Linked DNA regions of Homo sapiens: regions 1 and 3 are each linked to region 2. Evidence: promoter capture Hi-C in 16 types of primary human blood cells and fetal thymus (Javierre and others, 2016). All regions are on one chromosome and are shown on one strand. Each heading gives the region's core, a stretch centred on a gene start or on the middle of the fragment in contact. The rest is flanking DNA. Distances are from core to core; before and after follow the strand shown.

The links. Contacts are between HindIII fragments. The CHiCAGO score rates a contact against its expected background, and 5 or more counts as called.
Region 1: a fragment that was not itself captured here is called in contact with the fragment with the promoter of UBE3C in region 2 in 7 of 17 cell types (total B cells, total CD8 T cells, total CD4 T cells and 4 more); the score reaches 11.5 in total B cells.
Region 3: a contact is called between a fragment that was not itself captured here and the fragment with the promoter of UBE3C in region 2, in 6 of 17 cell types (total CD8 T cells, monocytes, total CD4 T cells and 3 more). The highest score is 11.2, in total CD8 T cells.

What each region holds. Positions count from the first base shown.
Region 1 is chr7:155,006,961-155,010,818 of GRCh38, forward strand. No RefSeq gene overlaps it. Among named protein-coding and RNA genes, the nearest start is that of PAXIP1-DT, 5.5 kb to the left of the region's middle. The HindIII fragment of the contact is 4,873 bases long and covers 1-3,858 here.
Region 2 is chr7:157,137,676-157,141,364 of GRCh38, forward strand. It overlaps UBE3C (ubiquitin protein ligase E3C), which reads left to right and starts at 1,251. Exons shown (of 23, transcript NM_014671.3): 1 at 1,251-1,663. The coding sequence starts at 1,598. RefSeq lists silencers at 743-1,092, 1,373-1,762, 1,813-1,882. The HindIII fragment of the contact is 7,086 bases long and covers 1-3,689 here.
Region 3 is chr7:154,924,312-154,927,773 of GRCh38, forward strand. No RefSeq gene overlaps it. Among named protein-coding and RNA genes, the nearest start is that of PAXIP1-AS2, 2.5 kb to the right of the region's middle. The HindIII fragment of the contact is 1,336 bases long and covers 1,545-2,880 here.

The sequences.
Region 1 (3,858 bases), core at 388-2,887, 2.1 Mb before region 2:
GACCCATTTTAGGGTGATAGCTATCAGTTTATTAAACAGAAGCTATGCATTTGTTTAATTTGAAGCATATACCACTTCCAAATATGACACTGAGCATTAATATTTTTAGACTTCCCCCAGGTAAATTAAAAGCATGATCATTTTGTTGATAATCAGCCTTTGGAGAATTAAACAGCCTGCTTACTGCCAGTGCTAGTTCAGTAAATATGTTTCTCATTTTCTATTTGGCAAAATTAGATAACCTAAGCCTAGGAAAAATAAAAAATTAGAAAAAAAAAAGTAGATTTGGGGATATTTAACTCAAATTGCCCTTACTGGTGGAAACTCGAGGCAGTTACTTAGATTATTTCCAAATGGCTTTTTTTAAATGTATTTCTATATTGTATACAACAGTCTCAGTCTTCATCTCTCCTGTTCAGCTATCCATACATCCCTTAAAATTAGATATTTTTAATGTTTAGTAAACCTTCAGTTTGGGTTTATAGACAACATTTAACCTTCTCATGAAAGGGTCAGAATACTCCAGTTGCAGGCACAAACAGGCCATAGTTTAGTTGAAGGAGAAACTGCGAACTCAAAGGAGCACTGCTTCTCTGCAGGAAAGATCCCGTCAGTGGACCTGCGGGGCACAGCTGCCACCAGTGTCATGTAGCTATTCAGTGTCGGAAAACTAGAAATCACAAGTGAAGAGAAATTGTAAATTACCTCAAATTCTATGCCCAGAAGCAACCACTATGGAAATCCTTCTAGACATTGTCCCGTATAAATATATTTCCCTAAAAAAAATTATACCCCATACTCTGCCACTTCAAAAAAATCAAGACTGTTTTTCCATGTCAATAAATATCTATATCATTTAATGAATACATAATACTCCCTTGTTTGAATGTACAATATTCTGTATTGTTGCACATTTGTTGTTTCCAATTTAACAATTACAGTACTCCAATGAAGCAATCATCTTAAAATACATGTATAACGTATTATAATGTTCCATCCTTTAAGGTTAGAAACGACGTCCCATACCTGTCTCCCGTCACTCTGAGAACAGTGCGGTAACAGGATCAGCGATTCTCAACCATGGGCAATTTAGCCCCCTATGGCACATTTGACAACGTCTGGAGACATTTTTGGTTGTCACAACTAGGGGGTAGGGGATGCTACTGGCATCTAGTGGTGGAGGATAGGAAGCTGCTAAACATCACGCAACGCATGGGACCGTCCTCCATGACAAAGGACCCGTGCAAAATGTCAATAGTGCCACTGTTGAGAAACCCGGATTAAGATCATGTTGTAACTACATTTCAGTGGGATAAGACTTTGAAAGTTTCCACCGGGCACAGTGGCTCATGCCTGTAATCCCAACACTTTGGGTGCCCGAGGCAGGTGGATCACTTAGGTCAGGAGTTCGAGACCAGCCTGGCTAACATGGTGAAACCTCATCTCTTACTAAAAATACAAAAACTAGTTGAGCATGGTGGTGCGCACCTGTAATCCCAGCTACTCGGGAGGCTGAGGCACGAGAATGGCTTGAACCGGTGAGGTGGAGGTTGCATTGAGTCAAGATTGCACCACTGCACTCCATCCTGGGTGACAGATCTAGACTCTGTCTCAAAAAAAAACGAAAAAGAAAGTTTCTTGCACATAACGCCTTGGTGGCTTCCTTCGGACAGCTTTCTTCCAAATGGGACTTGGCTTCTGTCATGTGGCTTTGTTAGCTGTACAGATGGGGACAAAGCATGTAGAGTATCCTGCTGCAGTTTCTATGGCTGAGCTAGCAAGAGTGGCACACATACCTCCAGCCATTTCCACTGGCCAGAACCTGGTCTCCTGACACCTCCGTAAGCTGTAAAGGAGACTGCTGGGTGATGTGGTCTTCTTACACGTCCAAGAAAAGAAAATGGCATTGATGGTATCTTGCCAATTTTTGCCATTTTTGGTTTTCAAAAAAATTCTTATATGAATTAAGATTAGTGTAATATAAAACAAAATTCTCAAAGATAATTTCAAAAAAAATACCCGTTAGCTACTCAATAGATATTTGTTGAATTTGAGGTTACTGGCTTTATACATAGAGGATTAAGCGTATTCTTTTTCCCGCCTGGCCAAATGGTAAAACCCCATCTCTACTGAAAATACAAAAAAATTAGCCAGGCATGGTGGTGCACGCCTGGAATCCCAGCTACCCAGGAGACTGAGCCACAAGGATCGCTTGAACCTGGGAGGCAGAGGTTGCAGTGAGCTGAGATCATGCCAGTCTGGGCCACAAAGTGAGAGTCTATCTCAAAAACAAACAACAAAGAAACAGCATTATTTTTAAAAAGCAAACACAAGGTAGTTCTCTGAGGCATGTGAGGGATGTGTTAGATGCCTTCCATTTGTCCCACTCCCCATGTCAGATCTGTACTCCATCCTGCTCCACCTTTTTCTCCGCCCCTGGGTGCTGACCTGAGCAGATTATATAAGTAGAATCCCTTGCACATTGGCTTCTAGTTGAATTTGGTCAATGGGGAGTCCCAGCAGAAAGCTGGGCAGTGAGGGGAGGGAGGAGAGAGGTATGACGGTGTTTATTTCCCAGGTTCCTCATCAGGTTGCCTTGAGCTGGCAGAGGAGCCCATTCTATACAACTCTCTCCTTCCAGGTCCTGGGAATCTTTCCTTCCTCTCATCCCTTGGACCTAGGGTGGTGAGGGCTCACCTGCTTCTCCCCACAGGTCCCTTCACTCTCCATGCATCCTGCCTACACCTTTGTAAGTAGTTCCTTGATAAACCTTCTTAGATGATTGTAATTTGAGTGTGCTGCCCCCAGTGGTGACCCTGTTGTGATGGACAGGAAACTCTTACAGGGACAATGAGAAATTCTTAAAATATTGTGTCTGCTCTCAAAAAACTAACAAATACTTGGATGCACGAGCCTAACACTAGTGGGATTCTGTAGAAATGCAGCAGAGATTTAGAAAAGAGGTTCCCATGTGCCAGAATAGCTGGGGGAAACCTCTTGGATGGAGCGGGCTGAGGGGAATAGTTCTTGAAGGGAGAGGAGAAACCACTGAAAAGAGGCCAGAATACTGATATTGCCAAATAAAAGGGTGCACATTTTGGATATTAAATAACTGATGATTTAAGATAGAAATGGGGAGTAATAAGAAATAATAGACTGTGTCTAGCGTATGAAGATCTTGAGACCTCATCAGAGGAAGTTGTTGCATTTGAGACTTAGCATAATTCTGTGGCTGTGAAAACAGAAAAGAAAATTGCTTACCAGCTATTTAAAGTTAAGTACTTTGTGACAAGCTGGCTGTGGGATTGACTGTTTACTCATGTTGTGGGTAAACAAGAAGACATATTGAATCTTAACTCAGATTTTAACCGCTGGTACCTGTGAGTGTGACCTTATTTGGAAGTAGGGTCTTTGCCCCCATCATTAAGATGAGGTCCTACTGGATGAGGATGGGACCTAAATCCTGTCACTGGTGTTCATATAAGAAGAAGAAAATTTGAACACAGACACCCAGGAGAGTGCCAAGTGATGACCGCGACAAGGGTTGGGGTGACGTGTCTAGAAGCTGAGGAACACCAAGGTTGCGGCAGACACCAGAAGCTGGAAGAGGCCAGGACCGCCTCTCCCCTAACGCCTTCAGAGAAAGCACAGCCTGGCCACCACCTTCATCTTCGATTTCTGGCCTCCAGAACTGAGAGAATGAATGTCTATTGTTTAAGCTGCCAGTATGTGGCACTTTGTTACAGTAGCCCTAGCAAGCTAACATTCAGTATGTCTGAAGGGTAGTCAAGAGGAAGCTAGAAATTAAGATGTCGGCCCATGTTTGGAGTGGATTTAAGCCAAACAGCGTACTATGTG
Region 2 (3,689 bases), core at 1-2,500:
TGCCTTAGCCTCCAGAGTAGCTTGGACTACAGGCGTGCACCACCACACCGGCCTAAGTTTTGTATTTTATTAGAGATGGGGTTTCACCATGTTGGCCAGGCTGGTCTCGAACTTTTCACTTCAGGTGATCCGCCCGCCTTGGCCTCCCAGAGTGCTGGGATTACCGGCGTGAGCGACCGTGCTCGGCCGCAGGACGACTGTAGATGATATCGTATTGTGTGTTGAAATTTTGCTAAGAGAGTAGATTTTATGTACTCTTACCACACACACACAAAGAGGGTAGTCATTTCACAATGTCTCTATGAAATCATCATGTTGCACACCTTGTATACAACCAAAAATCAATTTTTAGAAATTGGTTTCAATCGTGTATGATATATATGTATATGCACATGTATATGAGATATTATGTATACGTATGTGTGGATATAAGACACATGTTTATGTATAGGTGGTCCCCAACTTAAAATGGCTCAACTTACAATTTTTTGACTTTGTGATGGGTTTATTGTAGCATTAAATACATTTTCAACTTACAATATTTTCATCTTACGATGGGTTTATCAGGACAAAGCCCCATGGTAAGTCCAGGAGCAAATATTTTTGCATACACAGGTATGTGTACATGATACATATTTATATGTATTGATGCTGTATCTATAGATGCATATGTGTGCTATGTATGAGGCAAATCTGCGCATGTCTGTGTACATGGTAAATATTTACGTCCGTCTGTGCGTGTCATAGACATAGAACAGGTGGGATGTAAACAGACGGGCTGGGCCTAGCTGCTCCTTTCCCGCCTCACTCGAGTCTGGCACCAGATTGGCCGCTCCCAGCCCGCTCCGGGTGCCGGCCCCTGCACCCCACCCTGCACCCCGCACCCTGCCCTGCACCCCATCCCGGCCCGTGCCTCGCACTCCACCTTTCCCGCACCCTGCCCCGCACCCAACACCTCCCGCGCCCCTCGCCGCGCTCCCCCAGCACGCACCAGGCCCCGCCCACTCCGCCGCGTGCCCAGCCCGCGTCACCGCCGTCCTCCCCAGGCTCCAGCGCGCCTTGCGGGGCCGCGCACGCTAGCGGAACCGCCGGGAAGAGCGCCGTGCCGTCAATGGCGGAGGCGCGCACGTCTGCAGGGCCGCGCACGTCTGCAGGGCCGCGCACGTCTGCAGGGCCGCGCACGTCTGCAGGGCCGCGCACGTCTGCAGGGCCGCGCACGTCTGCAGGGCCGCGCACGTCTGCAGGGCCGCGCACGCACTGACGGCTGACCGCCATCTTCCCTCCCGAGGCGGCAGTTCCAGGTGCAAGCGCCGGGTTTGCTGCCCGCTGGGCGCCCCTGCAGCGGCCCGAGCTGTGGCCGGCGTGGATGAGGGGCAGGCGAGGCAGGGCCGCCCCTCCAGTATTGCCGCCCCTCCCGCCCCAGGGCAGGGCTGGGAGGGTACAGCCCGGGGGCGGGCTCGGGTCGCCTCCCGGCCGCCGCGTCCTCGCTGCCCCGGGCCGGGCGGGCGGGCGCCGAGAGCCTCCCAGCCCGCCCCGTGCCCCGCCCGCCCGGCTGCTTCCGCGGCGGCGCTGCCCGCACATGGGCTAGGCTGCCAGGATGTTCAGCTTCGAAGGCGACTTCAAGACGCGGCCCAAGGTGTCCCTTGGCGGCGCGAGCAGGAAGGTGAGGGCCGGGCTGGCGGGGCGCCCTCGGCTCGGGGCCTGCGCGGCCGGGGCTCGGGGCTGGGACTCGGGGCTGGACTCGGGGCTGGACTCGGGGCCGAGACTTGGGGCTGGATTCGGGGCCTCCCTGGCGGGGACTCGGGGCTTCCTCGCCGGATCTCGGGGCCGCTCCGGCCGGGACTCGGGGTTGGACTCGGAGCCGAGACTTGGGGCCAGGACTCTGGCTGGGGCTTAGGACTGGACTCGGGGCCTCCCTGGCTGGAACTCGAGGCCGCGCCCGTGGGGGCCTTGCCTGTCCACTGCGCTTCGGGACCCGGGCGCGCTGGCCGTGGCTCCCTTCCATGCAGGAGGCCGGTGAACCCTGGCACGCTTTGTGCCACCCAAGGTGAACTTACCCTTTCTGGGTGTTTCCTTTCAGAAATGCGCTTTCCATGCTCGCTCCCGCATGGCATCAGGGAGTGGCTGCTTTTCGAATGCCACCTGAAGGGCGTTTTCGGTTGTAGAAGGTGAACGGCACGCATTTGCTGATGTCGATAATCTCTAAAGTAGAGGCAGAACGTCTCATGAATAGCCACGTGTTTGAATCCAAGACGAGGGCAATTATTTGCCACCAGCCTCCTGGAAACTGTGGAGAGACTCCGGACTTACATCTGTTGTGATCGACATTAAGTTGTTCGCATGGTAATTGTTTAGGATAAGGGTAGGCAAACCATGACGCCTCTGTTCTAGTCTAGAATTTCTAGCTGTCTGTCCCTGAAGACGGGCATCAGTTGGTTCACTGGAACCGCTAAGTCGTTGAACACTGTGTGGTCTTGTTCCCGCCCCTCCCTTCCCACCCCTTCCCATCATTTCTGAAATGTTCTTTAAAATGCTTCACCTAGTTTTTCTTGTCTATCAGTATATTCTGTATATCACAACCACCAGGTAGGCACATAACGCAGAGTGGGTGCTGGCAGGCCAAGGAGGAACTGCTGTTATTAAGATTGTGCTGTGGGGCTGTGTTTGGTGGTTTCTGAGGTTAGAAGGGAACCTGGGTAAAGAGTTGGGAGAGAAGTGTGCTGATAATTTTTCAGCTTTGAGGTTCGTGTGATGGTGATTGCTTGGAAGTCACTTGTGCTCCAGAACTAAGTACTGTGCAGTTAAGGGTGGTCGTGGTAGCACTTAGGGTCTTCCACGTTAATGAAAATGTTTTATGAGATCAAAGGATTTCTACAGTTAGGAGAGACTTCAGAGAATCTCAGGGCCAAATCGCCTTGCTTACAAGTTCGGAAGGTGAGCTGCAGAACATTTGAAGGAGTGCCCATTCACACAGCAAGCTAGTGGCAGACCATCTGAGACTCCATGCCATTTACACAGCGCCGCGCGGCCTCTGTTGCAGGCAGGAACACCCCACGGGCCACGGATGTTGGTCCCTTTTCACCAAGGAGTGCATCTCTGCTCTGAGGGAGTGAGATTTCTTAACTGTTGATCAGAATCTCAAGGGAAGATAGCACGAGCTGTGTAAAAGAATCACCCCTTTAAAAACAAAACTCTTTTTATTGAGGTATAACTTAAGATACAGTCAGGTTCACAAACACTAAAGAGATCCTTGTGCAAGTGAAATTGAGGAGGAAGGGCGAGAGGGAAGCTGGGTAGGGAAGGAAAAGGCGTCTCAGCTGGAGGCTAGCGTTAACCCCATCTCACCAGGAGCATGCTACAATTGGCCCTAATTGCGGCAGAGGGGTTGGTGGCTGCAGGCTGCTGCCCCTCCGGGATGAGGGTGGGAGTGTGGCACTGCTAACCCTGAGCCGAGGGCCATTCTTCTGGGAGAGAGTGGCAGTAAAGAGCCCTTAGTAGGAACTGGCAGCAGCTGGGGCATGGGTGCCCTGGCCTGGTTAAGGAATCTGGGTGGGGAGCCAGCTGTATGTACAGCTTGAAGGATTTTTGCATATGGACACTCTCCTGTAGATGGAACACCACTCACATCAAAGGAAGACCATCCCCAGCATTCCAGAGGCTCCCCTGCACTCTCACCCATTCATTACAGT
Region 3 (3,462 bases), core at 963-3,462, 2.2 Mb before region 2:
GTAACCTGCTCGGTAAGTCCCTGATCCATCCTTTAAATAAGAGCTGCCTGTAACTCAAACAACATCAGCATTAATCAGTGGAGTCTCTTGCAAGTCAGTCCTAGGAAAGAGGAGCCAATCAACTGGGGCTATGTGATTATGCAGTGTTTCATCTGAAAATGAAGGCAGAAGAGTGTCAGGATTTAGGTTACACCTGGAGATGGTGATAGGAGAAGCTGAAAGAAGTAAAACTCATGTGAAGCTCGTCTACTAATTGAATAATGTCCAGTGTGGTGTGAGTTTAGTGATGCTTCCACAGAATGAGGGATAAAAACAGTAAGGGGAGTTCCCACCACAGTTCCTTGGGTCATCTTAATGAACAAGGTGGTTGCTGTTATATCTCTCATGCAAAGAGGCAATCCTTTGGCTACCGGGCCTAACTGTTGGCTGTAATGCCCTACAGGTCTATTTCAGCCTTCATGTTTCTGAGTCAGATTATCTAAAGCATTTCCATCATTTTCATGTACAAACAATGAAAATGTGAGGTTATAATTTACATGCCCCAAAGAAGAGGCATTGGCAAGACCATTCTTAGTCATTTCTAATGTTAGTTGACTTTCTTTTATCCAGTCTAGAGGGTTTAAAGTTCTCTATTAAGAGGGCATATAAGGAAGGTGGGCGCAGTGGCTCATGCCTGTAATCCCAGGACTTTGGGAGGCCAAGATGGGTGGATCAATGAAGGTCGGGAGTTCAAGACTAGCCTGGCCAACATGGTGAAACCCCGTCTCAAGTAAAAATACAAAAATTAGCCAAGTGAGACTCTGTCTTAAAAACAAAAAGGAGGGCATATAAGGATTGGGCTTTTAAATAAAAATTTGGAATCCAATTTCTACAATATCCTGCCAGTCCTAAAATCCCACTCAACCATCTCTTCATTCTTGGTTGTAAAAAGCTGAGATCCTTTCTAGTCTGTCTGAATTAATAAAACATCCTTCCTTGGATATTAGGTGGCCTAAGTATATCACTTGTCTTCGACAAAATTGAAGTTTCTCTTTAGAGACTTTGTTTTCTTAGGGCTGCCTTTTGTAATAAATGTAGCCCATCATTCACAGAACATCTTGTTTGCTCTCCAAGATGGAAGTCATTTATTTACTGGATTAATGTATGCATTTCCAGGAAATTAACATCTGAGAGGCCTATTTTTAATATTTTTGAAAAGTAAGTCAGGCTTTCAGCATATCCTTGGAGGCCTGTGTGACCCAGTGTATTGTCTGTTTTCCCAAGTGAAGGCAAAGAGAAATTGGCTATTTTTGTCTACAAGAATGCTAAAGAATGTACTACATAAGTCTATGACTGTAAGGAATTCCACATTAGAAGGAATGGCTGTGAGTAACATAGGCTTGTGCAGTATAGGGTGCCATGGGATTGCCATGTTGTTTATTGCTCTCAAGTCTTGTACAAACCTCCATTCTCTAACATTTGGTTTTCTTACCAGGAGGATTGGGGTATTACAATGGCTTGTACAAGGAATGAACAGTCATCTTTCTATATAATCTGACATTATAAGCTTTATCCCTCCTAGAGCTTTAGTTCTCAAGGGGTATTGTCTTGTATTTTGAAGATGTTTCCATGGGTATATTTAAATATTTATTGGAGTAGCTGAGATGATAGTTTCTATATCAATGGAGGACACTGACCACAATGGATCAAGTACTGTCTTTAGTACATTTTGTAATTCTTCATTAAGCAATAATTCATTGTCTTTCATGGCAATATGGATTGCAATTGGATTAGATTTTGAAAATTTTATTAAAATATCTGTTGTGTCTCAAAGTTGAGTTTTATAATCTAATTTTAAATATATTTCCTTCCTTTGAGAGAAAGAAATGTGGGTATCACATAATTCTAAGCAGTTTCTTCCTGTTGAATGGATGGGGTCTGATGGAACAAAGAGGAGGGCATGAGTTCCTTGTAACGAACACTGTTGAAAGGTTACAGGCTGAGATTGGTATGCCAATACAGGAGGATTGTGATGCCCACCATTTGAATTCTTTGTTTACTGCAAGGAATGGGACCTTGTACCAAGATGGGATTAATTCCAGATAATGTGGCTCCAGTGTCAATAAGTGCTTGTGTTAGTTCTCCATTTATAATAATTTTTATTTCTCCCAGTGTTAGTAAGGAGGAAATGAAAGGCCCCTTTAAGTTCCTTGGAGCACCCCTGTTTTCTTTTCTGCCTCCACTGGTTAACATTCTTTCCTTTTTCATTTTTGGCAACTCTTTTGAAAGTAATCATGCTTTTTGCAAAAATTGCAAAGTGGAAGGTTAGGTCCATTAGGGAGTTTCTAGGGGTATTGTGAAGGCCAAAATTGTGTGAATAGTTGTTTTAATTGTAAATTCATAATTGTATTAGCCTCGCTCTTTTGTTTGGCTTCCCTCTCTCTTTCTTCTTCAGTTAAGGTATCAGATAACCGGTCAATGAGACTGACCAAATCATGAGTATCAGAAGTGGCCCAACTTTGTCTTTTCATTGTTAGTTCCAATTCATCTAACTCATTTGTTAAACTGGAGTCGAGTATCATTTCGATGATTAGCACAGCTTTCTTCGGATAAAACTAAATATTCTTTAAAATTTTTTCCACAGCCCTCAAAGTATATTACTGACTCATCTGAATTTTGTTGATATTGTATTTTGTTCCAGTTGACTACTCTGAAAAACTGAGGAGATAGCCTGATGCAAAGCCTTTGCTGTTCTTCAAGCCTGTCTATGGTCCTCTTCTGAACATTTATGAAGATCCCTAACAGATTTCTCCAGTGAGCTTTGTCTAGCCAGCCTTTAGCTTTAATTTTTGCTACTAACATGTGAATCTGTTGCTAGAAGTCAGAATAACTAGGGTCATAAGCTTGGATATTTAATTCAAATTTCCTAGCAAAACCAATAGGAACCTGGTGAAGATCAAGGAATTCTTTTAACTATGCCTGTAAGTTTGATCATGATTGATAAAGCAGGTTCCCCTCTACCAGATGCTGGATGAAATGGAGCCAAACCAGTGGGAGCAGGAGGAGGGGCAGGAGGAGGAGGAGGAGAAGGTCAATCAGGGCTGGGTAGTTCTGACAAGGAGGCTTAGAGAGACAGGGGAGCAGGGAGAGAAGAAGACATTTCAGTGTTTTTTAAAATTCAGTAATGGTTTTAGAGTGCTTTTTATTTTCTTCCTCTAAGGGAAGAATTCTGTCAAAACCTCTTTTGGATGCTTCTGGGTGCCATTGGAAGTAACTCTCTTAATTATTTTATTTGATTCCATAGCTGGCTTTTTAAAATTGTGCATATAAATAAACTAATCTAGCTATTTCAAAGATAATTCTCTTTGATCATTGTAATTTAGGATCTTCTTAGGTCAAATAAGACCATTTCTCCAACTATCGACAGGAGGTGGCGCCATAAGTCTTGTACATAAACCCCGCTGGAGTTTCCAAAGGTGCATT